Linked DNA regions of Homo sapiens: region 1 is linked to region 2. The links are contacts of gene promoters, found by promoter capture Hi-C in blood cells and fetal thymus (Javierre and others, 2016). All regions are on one chromosome and are shown on one strand. The core of a region is centred on a gene start or on the middle of the fragment in contact, and the rest is flanking DNA. Distances in the headings are between cores, read along the strand shown.

Region 1 (4,275 bases), core at 1,603-4,102, 860 kb after region 2:
TAGGACTCAGATCATAAGAAAAATCTTTGACACTACAAATTCTATACACTAAGGCAGTATCCCCAAATTTCATTCAATTTTTCTAATATGGGGGTGCTACTGAGCACAAAACTAGAAAGAGATTATAAATATACATATTCTTGGTCAGTTTAGACTACTATAGCAAAATATGATGCACTAGGTGGTTTAAATGATCTCCTCTTAGGGCCCTTGCTGTGTCCTTGTATGGTGGAGAGACAGTTCTCTGGCCTCTCTTCTCTTCTTATAAGGCCACTAATTCCATCATGGGGACTTCACCCTCACGTCCTGATCTAAACCTGAGCACCCCCCAAAGGTTCCACATTCAAATACCATCACACTAGAGGTTAGGGCTTCAACATATAAATTTGGGGGAAGATAAGCGTTTAGACCATTATTTATTTATATGTTAAAAATAATATAGAATATTCCCAGAAGTCAATTTTTGCTCCATGTATTAGAATACTTATTAAACCTTCCTATGCCCAGCAAAATTGTAGACACTGAAAAAATACCAACAGAAAATGGTCCAGCTTTTAATGCATTTAAGCTGAAATAAGAAGTGGTGAACACAGATCCAAATTGAACTAAAATGTTATGTAATCTATAATAGCAACCTTTTATCTGGTGTCTATTATGTGATAATGGTATAACGTACTTTATCTAATCTTCACAACAACACTGCTAGGTAGTTATTAGCCTCATCTTAAGTGTTAGAAAACAGAGAACACTGAGAGGCTAAGAAATTCATTCAAGGCCACCCAGGGCATAAGCAGTGGAGCTGAAGTTTGGACAAGATTTCTTTTTCTCCCCAAGCCATGCTTGCACATAATGCACATACCACTACATGCTGATTAATTCATTTTATGAATAAAATCTTCCCTCTTATAATTCTGCTTTGTTTTTATGCTTTTTCATTCCTAGCTTTCTCACTGGTGACTTATGTGGATGAATCAATGGGAACAAGGTCAGATCATGGACAGATGAGAAAATAATGAGACATTAGATTATTAAGAGAGATGAAGTTAAGAGTGAGAGGTGAATGAAAGGGAAGAAGGGGTGAAAGCTCAGGATTATGAAGGGAATAAACAGGAAAGAGGAGAGAGAAGAAGAGAATGAATACTACCCAGATATTTCTCTGGGCACTGTGGATCTGATGGAATGGTGGTATCCCACCCTGTAACCCTGTCTTCTCTGATCTCTGGCCAAGTGTGTGGCTTGGCACTGCACAACTAACAGTTAGCAGCATTCTGGGGAGAGGCTCATGGTAGTGACCAAATTGCACTTTCCCTAGCTATTCTTGTGTTCTAATCCTCCCCTGAAGGTCTTTTATGGTTAATCTCAAACCATATAAATATTTAACTCTCCTTTTAGTTACATTGCAGAAGCCTGTTCTCAAACAAGTATAAGTTTCAGTAACCACAAATTGATACTAATCTACCCTAATGTCACTGTGTTCCTCTTCTTCAAGTGAGTTGAAAGCATGGATCCATACAATTTGTCTTGTTCAGTTTGTACCTACTTGTATCTTCCATTAACAGAGCATAGACTCTCAGGTATGGAGAACAGATTAAGATCCAATTACTCAGCCAAAATTTCAATCCACCTCTCTCCAGGACATTTTTTTGTTTTTGTTTTTGTTTTTCTTTAACATCCTCCAAACTGGTAGTATAGCTATATCGAGTACTTCCAGTCCATGGAACCTAACACTTCCTCAAGTAGTCCTTTCCATGCTTAGACAACTTCGACTTTAGAGTGTGGTTTCTTATTTCACCAGTCAGGATAGCTAAGCTGTTCTGCAGTAACAAACAGCCCTAAAGTGTCAGCTCTAATACAACAGAGGCTTTCTTTTTTTTTTTTTTTTTTTGGCTAACATTATGTGCCTATCAAATCAGCTTGGCTCTGGTATATATTGATATCCATCTGGGATCCTGGCTGAGGGAGAAGCCCCTCTCTGGGACATTTCTGATCTCATGGCAGAGGAAAAGAGGTCCTGGAGGATCGTATACTGGCCATTAGAGCTTCCACATGTCATTAGCCAACATGCATCACATGGAGTCATCCCACAGAGAAGGACAGGGCCAGGAGCAAGACAACCCAGAGAACAGCCGTAAATATCTGGAATAACAGTGCAATGTACCACATAGTTATTGAGTCAAATCCTTTTCCAAGTCATATCCCTCCTTCCCCATTGCCTTTTCTCTTTACCAGCTCTACAAATGTTAGGAATCCTTAGCCATGTTTTCTTCGAGCTGTCTTTCTTCTAGTCTAATTGGCTCCAATTCCTCCACTGACCTGTTCCCTGTATCTAGTGGTCTTATCTGACATTCTCTTGAGCCTTTTCAGCTGTCTCAAGTCAACTGGTGAGAGAATTGTTGGTCTATTCTCCAAAGGAAGTGGTCCCTTGACATACTTTCCTTTAGGATGATGGGTTTGGCGATGTGGCTGAGCCTTCTAGACAAAAAAAGCTTTCCTTAAACAATATCTCAACTAATCAGTCTCCAAATATTTTAGTAGCTTAAATCTTTAGGCTTTTCACAAATGCCCAGACACTTTGCCTGTTATATATTAGAATGTAGAGATGTTTGAGCACTTCCAGAGGGCAAATGTCACATCCCTGACTATACTTTAGGTAACTTAGCAATATATATACATGGTTGTATTGACAAAACTCCTCAAGCCTACTATTTTTTCATAGGACTGGCTCAGAATGTGGACTTTGGAAATAACCAGTCTTGGATCAAACCCTGATTCCACTCAGTACTACCTATACGACCTTTGACAAGTTAATTAATCCTGAGCTCTTATTTCCTCATCTAATGAGATACAGACAATAAGAGTTATCTTTCTCATGTGGCTGTTGAGAGGATTAAATGACAACAGTGGGGCTCAATCAGTGTCTTCTTTTGTTACCATACTGGGGTCCTAGCACTCAGAGCTATTTCTGGTCTTACTCAAGGACCAGGTCCTCTAGCATCCCTGGGTTTACCATGGTTATGCATAGCTCCCTCCTCTCTCCCAGGTGTCCTTCTCTCCTCCTGAAATGTTTCAGCCTCAAGTCAGCATCATCCGAGCTTGACCAGTATCTCTCAAGGTGTTGTCCAAGAACAAGCTGCACTGGAATCACCTGGAGGCCCACGTGGCTCCATTTCAGACTAACTGACAGAGTTAGAAGATGAAACTAGTAAATCTGTATTTTAACAAGCTTCCCCCAGCTAGAGGTGCCAGATAAATTATAGGACATCCAGTTAAATTTGAATTTCAGATAAACAATGAACAATTTTCAGTATAAGTATGTCTGTCCCATGCAATATTTGGAACATACTTATACTAAAAAAAAATTTATTATTTATCTGAAATTCAAATTAAATGGAGTATCCTGTACTTTTAATTGCTAAATCTGGCAAACAAATCTCAGGGATTCCAATTCTTACTAAATTTGAAGACCACTGGTTTAAGATATTTGGCAAAAATCTCAAATTCAACTTCATGAGCTTCCAAGGAGGGAGGGAGGGAAAGAACGAAGGAAGGAAGGAAGGAAACGAAAGGAAAGGGAAGGGAAGGAAGGAAGGAAGGAAGGAAATGAAAGGAAAGGGAAGGGAAGGGAAGGGAGGGAAGGGAGGGAAGGAAGGGAAGGGAGGGAAGGGAAGGAAGGGAAGGAAGGGAAGGAAGGGAAGGAAGGGAAGGAAGGGAAGGAGAGAAGGAGGGAGGAAGGAGAAGAGAGGAAAGAAAGAAAGGAAGAAAGAGACAAAGAGAGGAAAGAAAAGCAAAGCAAGCGAAGCTTATAGACGGAACACAGATGGCCCATGCATCCACAAAACAAATATGCACAAGACCAAGTAGGTTAGCATTTGTTTCAGCAGCCACAGTGGCAAACATAGACAATCCAGCAGCCAGAGAAAAATCCACTTCCTTGTTTCTCTAGTTTGGAATTGGGCTTTAGGTGTCTCTGTCTCCTTCTGCTGCTTTCTCCTTTTTTTTTTTTTTTTTTTTTTTTTTTTTTGTCTAAACATCTCCATGCTATGCTAGCCAACACCTACTCATCCTCATTTGGTATTTCCTCTTTTGCTTTTTTGCTTTCCTACAAAGCATCTTGGGCCCATCCTCCTCTGTCTGCCCCAAACATCAGAATACCTAATCAAATAGTCATATAGCCATCTTTCTCCCTCTAATATTAAGTGTGGACTCCCTCAATTTTAGTTTTCTGATGGGATTTTCCTAATTCTCAAACCATTCTGTCTTATGTGTACTAGAGTA
Region 2 (4,105 bases), core at 818-3,317:
ACTGTTTAGCATTGCTGACACGGCTTAACTTAACACGTTCACATCAGGAATTAGCTCTAGAATTCTTCTAAGTACAGCTGCTCATACCTTCATGGTACATGGAGGTAGAATTGTAAACAAGTCTTTGTCCCTGTTTCCTTCTACTTTACCTCAGGTAACTCCATTTTATGTATCATTTGGAGAAAAAAAAAAGACTATCCATAGAAAAATGTAAAATCAAGAACCATATTAACTTGTGAAAAGTAAGAAAAGTAATTCAAGAGTAAGAAAAGTAACTCAATCCAGATAAATGTTTAATTTTCAGAAGGTGATGACAGAAACAAAAATGTTGCAACTTTATAAAACATTGTATTCTCAAAAAGTATTGCATTTTGCAGGATTTTGTTTTCTTCTTGTCTTTTCTGAGATAGAGTGTTTTCAGATACCAAAAAGAATAATAACCACTGAAAATATAGCTGCTTTTATTACTATAATGCAATGCACTTTTAACTTTTTTCAGTAAATTTCCCTTGCTTCTAATACAATGGAAAAATCTGAGCTATTTATTTATTTTAATTCTGATTGTATGGCTCCTTTATTAGGAAAATAATACGCATTTTCAATGAACAAATTTGCATTGTTGACTAAATAATATTTAAAATTAATATATTGTAATAATTTTGTACTTTAAAATTTAACACTGTATAGATAGGTAAAGAATGTATGAATTTAATTTTTCATAAGATTGGTATGTTTTCATATTAAACTTTTCACCTCCAACATTTACAAATATCTGGAAGTTTTATACTTCTAGAAAGTTAAAGAAAGATGATTCAAATAATGATGGACCCTTCAGTAAGTGGAAAAAGTACATTCGGTAACACTAGCAATCAACCACGCAGCCTACAGAAAAATGATTCACCACCACCCATATGCAGTTTCACCTTAATCTACCACATGTGGAAGATGCTCTCAACTGTGGAAACAGTGTGAATTACAGCCCCATCTTCAGCATAAAAGACATGCATACATACTGTTACACTAGAAAAAAAGGAAGCCTTTTATGGAAGAAAATTACCAATTTTCTTATTTAAGTCTTTTTTTCTTTAAAAATAATTAATGAACACTAGCAGCGTAGCGAGTCTTAAATTTTGCCCTTTCACTTAAAATTTAAACCAAAGCAAATACACTTACCTATTATACCAGATCCTATAATCGAGTTGACAACATTAAAAAGAGCAGCAGACTGACAGGTTTTCTCTTTATACTCATGTTCAGAAACAAGGGTTTCTCTGTCATCTAAATCTCTCTAATAGATAAAATAGCAATTATAAGCAAATACTAGTTCAGAAAATTAGAAAAGTAACAAATATGTAATGCAGGATACTAACACGATTTTCTAGTAATAATAAGTAATGTCACTAATGAAAATAAAATAAATGCCGGGATAACAGTAATAAAGAATAACAATAACAGCTAGTAATTCAACAGAGCTTGGTAAGCAAACTCCATCCTAAAATTTCCAGATTACAGCTGCCCCAGCTGCTAAGTACAGGATCTGTTAGGAATTCAGTGATGTGATTTTGTGAAATTAAAGTGCCTGCTAAGAAAAAAAAAAAAAAAAGTCAGATTAAGGCAAAACTTTTTGTCCCAGAGAACTTTTCGCGGTGCTAAACCAAGAGCCCAGGTGAAGGTAGGTGACCTGACCTGTTGCAAGGTGAATGAAATTTCCGGACAACTGGCTTCAGAACCTGCCTAGTCGCTAGTTTTACCTGCGGCGGGATGACAGGCTCCTGCCTCTGGTAGCCCATGGCTGAGCGGTGGTCCTCAGCAGGTGGAAGATGCTGGGGCTGGGTACGGATTCGCACCCGGCCAGCCTCCTCCGCCACCTCGCACACAGCCGAGGTCCGCGTGTAGCCGCAGAGCTGCAGGGAGCCAGTTCCACGGGCGCCCCCTGCTCCCTCGGCAGGCCGCGAGGGCTGCAGCCCCAAGATCTCTAGGCTGTGGCAGCCTGGGGCGCTTTTCCACCGGAGTTCGCCCAGACAAATGTATTTTTCCTCCGGAGACGGAGATGCTGCAGGATGTTTCTGATCCGGGCAGCCCTGTCTCCCCGCCTCCCCCCTTCACACCCCCGCCTCCCTGAGAGAACAGGGAGAGCTACTCTTCCCTGGAGCTGCAGAGGACAACTTGTTCCACCCACGCTGCCCTGCCCCGATCTCACAGAGTTATGACCGCCTCGTTGCAGTCCGTTCCTAAGTTAGCTTCTCCTTTGCTGGGGTCTGAAGCCCAGGTAAGAACGCAGAAGCACCCTTGGGCCCATGGGCCATCTTCCCTATTAGCACCTCCTCCTCGCTACCCCTCTTCAATGGCAGAGACGACGAGTGAAAATTTGGGACTTTTATTGTAAATGGAAATGGAAAGACTCATAAGAAAATGAATAGCAAAACAAAAAACTTTCCTAGGGTTTTAGCAAACTTGACTACTGAGCATGCTTTGGTCAAACGCTTCCTGGTAACTTTTAGAAAAAGGAGCGATAGAGAAAATGAAGGTGGATTGTTACTGCATTCAGGTAATGAACCTTGAAAAGGGAAAGAGGAGTACAAGGGTTTGGGAAAGGGGTGGCACCTACAGTGCCTGAGCTAGAAAGAATCTTCAATGACCACCTATTCAGTCCTCTTACATTACAGATGAAGCAACAAGCCCAGAGAGTATTCAATATCAGAGACAGAATGCATGAGACAACAGTTTCAGGGGCAATAAGAGCGGTGATATGCCATCATACTTAACAAATTCTGCCTTCCCTTGATATCCATAGGGGATTGGTTCTGGAACCCCTGCAGATACTGAAATCCAGGAATGCTCAGGTCCTTGATAGTAAACAGCATGGTATTTACATGTAACCTAGGCACATCCTCCAGCATACTTTAAATCATCTCTAGATTATTTATAATACCTAATACAATGTAAATGCTATTTACTTGTTGTTATACTGTATTGTTTAGGAAATAAGAAAAAAGTCCATATGTGTTCAGTATAGACACATCCATCCTAGCCCTAACTACATTTTTGATCTGGGATTGGTTTAATGCATGGATGCAGAAGTGGGGATATAGAGGCCAACTGTACCTAATTAAAGAGGTTCTGTTTCATACATGTTTACTTATAATTAAGAAAAAAAATTAAAAACCGTGGGAAAACAAAAGACTTATAAACTTTATATACACTCTGCCATCAAATGTTAACATGCTGTCATATTTTCTTCAAATTGTAAAAGTAAACACAATGTCACAATAGGAACCCCCTTGACCTTCTCCATTCCTTTCCCCAGGCCTTCAGCCCTGGAGTCATCGGTTCATCAAGTTAGTGTTATCTTTGCTATTCATACTTTGTATTTTAATCCGTTCATTTATAGCCATAAACAATATATAACATTGGCTTTTGTATTTTCAACATTTACAAAGATGGTGCCATATTGTACATGTTATTTTTCCACTGGCATTTTTGTTTTCAGCATGTATGATGTAGATATATGCAGATTTTTTTTTCATTTTATCTAACAGTTAAGTCAGCCTTCCCCTACTGAAAGATATTAAGGTTGTTTCTCGTTTTACACTCTTCCAGAGCATAAAAGTGACAATTTCTCTAGATGTAGAAGTGTTAGGTAGTAGGTCATGCACACTTTCAACTTCATTATCATTATTATTATTATTGAGATGGAGTTTCGCTTTTGTTGCCCAGGCTGGAGTGCAATGGTGTGACCTGGGCTTACTGTAACTTCTGCCTCCTGGGTTCAAATGATTCTCTTGCCTCAGCCTCAGGAGTAGCTGGGAATACAGGTGCCTGCCACCACGCCCGGCTAAGTTTTTGTATTTTTAGTAGAGATGGGGTTTCACCATGTTGGCCAGGCTGGTCTTGAACTCCTGACCTCAGGTGATCCACCCTCCTCGGCCTCCCAAAGTGCTGGGATTACAGGTGTGAGCCACTGTGCCTGGCCTTCATTAAATATTTTTGAATTGCTTTGCAAATTGATAACATGAATTTCACTTCTACCAACAGAGGTGAAATTCTTGTTTTTCTACATTGTCTGTAACACCAGGACTTACTTAATCTATTTTTTAAGTTTAAT

Evidence for each region. Contacts are between HindIII fragments. The CHiCAGO score rates a contact against its expected background, and 5 or more counts as called.
Region 1: a contact is called between a fragment that was not itself captured here and the fragment with the promoter of SLC38A11 in region 2, in 1 of 17 cell types (total B cells). The highest score is 7.0, in total B cells.

What each region holds. Positions count from the first base shown.
Region 1 is chr2:165,810,953-165,815,227 of GRCh38, forward strand. No RefSeq gene overlaps it. Among named protein-coding and RNA genes, the nearest start is that of GALNT3, 19 kb to the left of the region's middle. The HindIII fragment of the contact is 737 bases long and covers 2,485-3,221 here.
Region 2 is chr2:164,953,458-164,957,562 of GRCh38, forward strand. SLC38A11 (solute carrier family 38 member 11) reads right to left here and starts at 2,068. Exons shown (of 12, transcript NM_001351537.2): 1 at 1,752-2,068; 2 at 1,174-1,288. The coding sequence starts at 1,790. The HindIII fragment of the contact is 8,780 bases long and covers 1-4,105 here.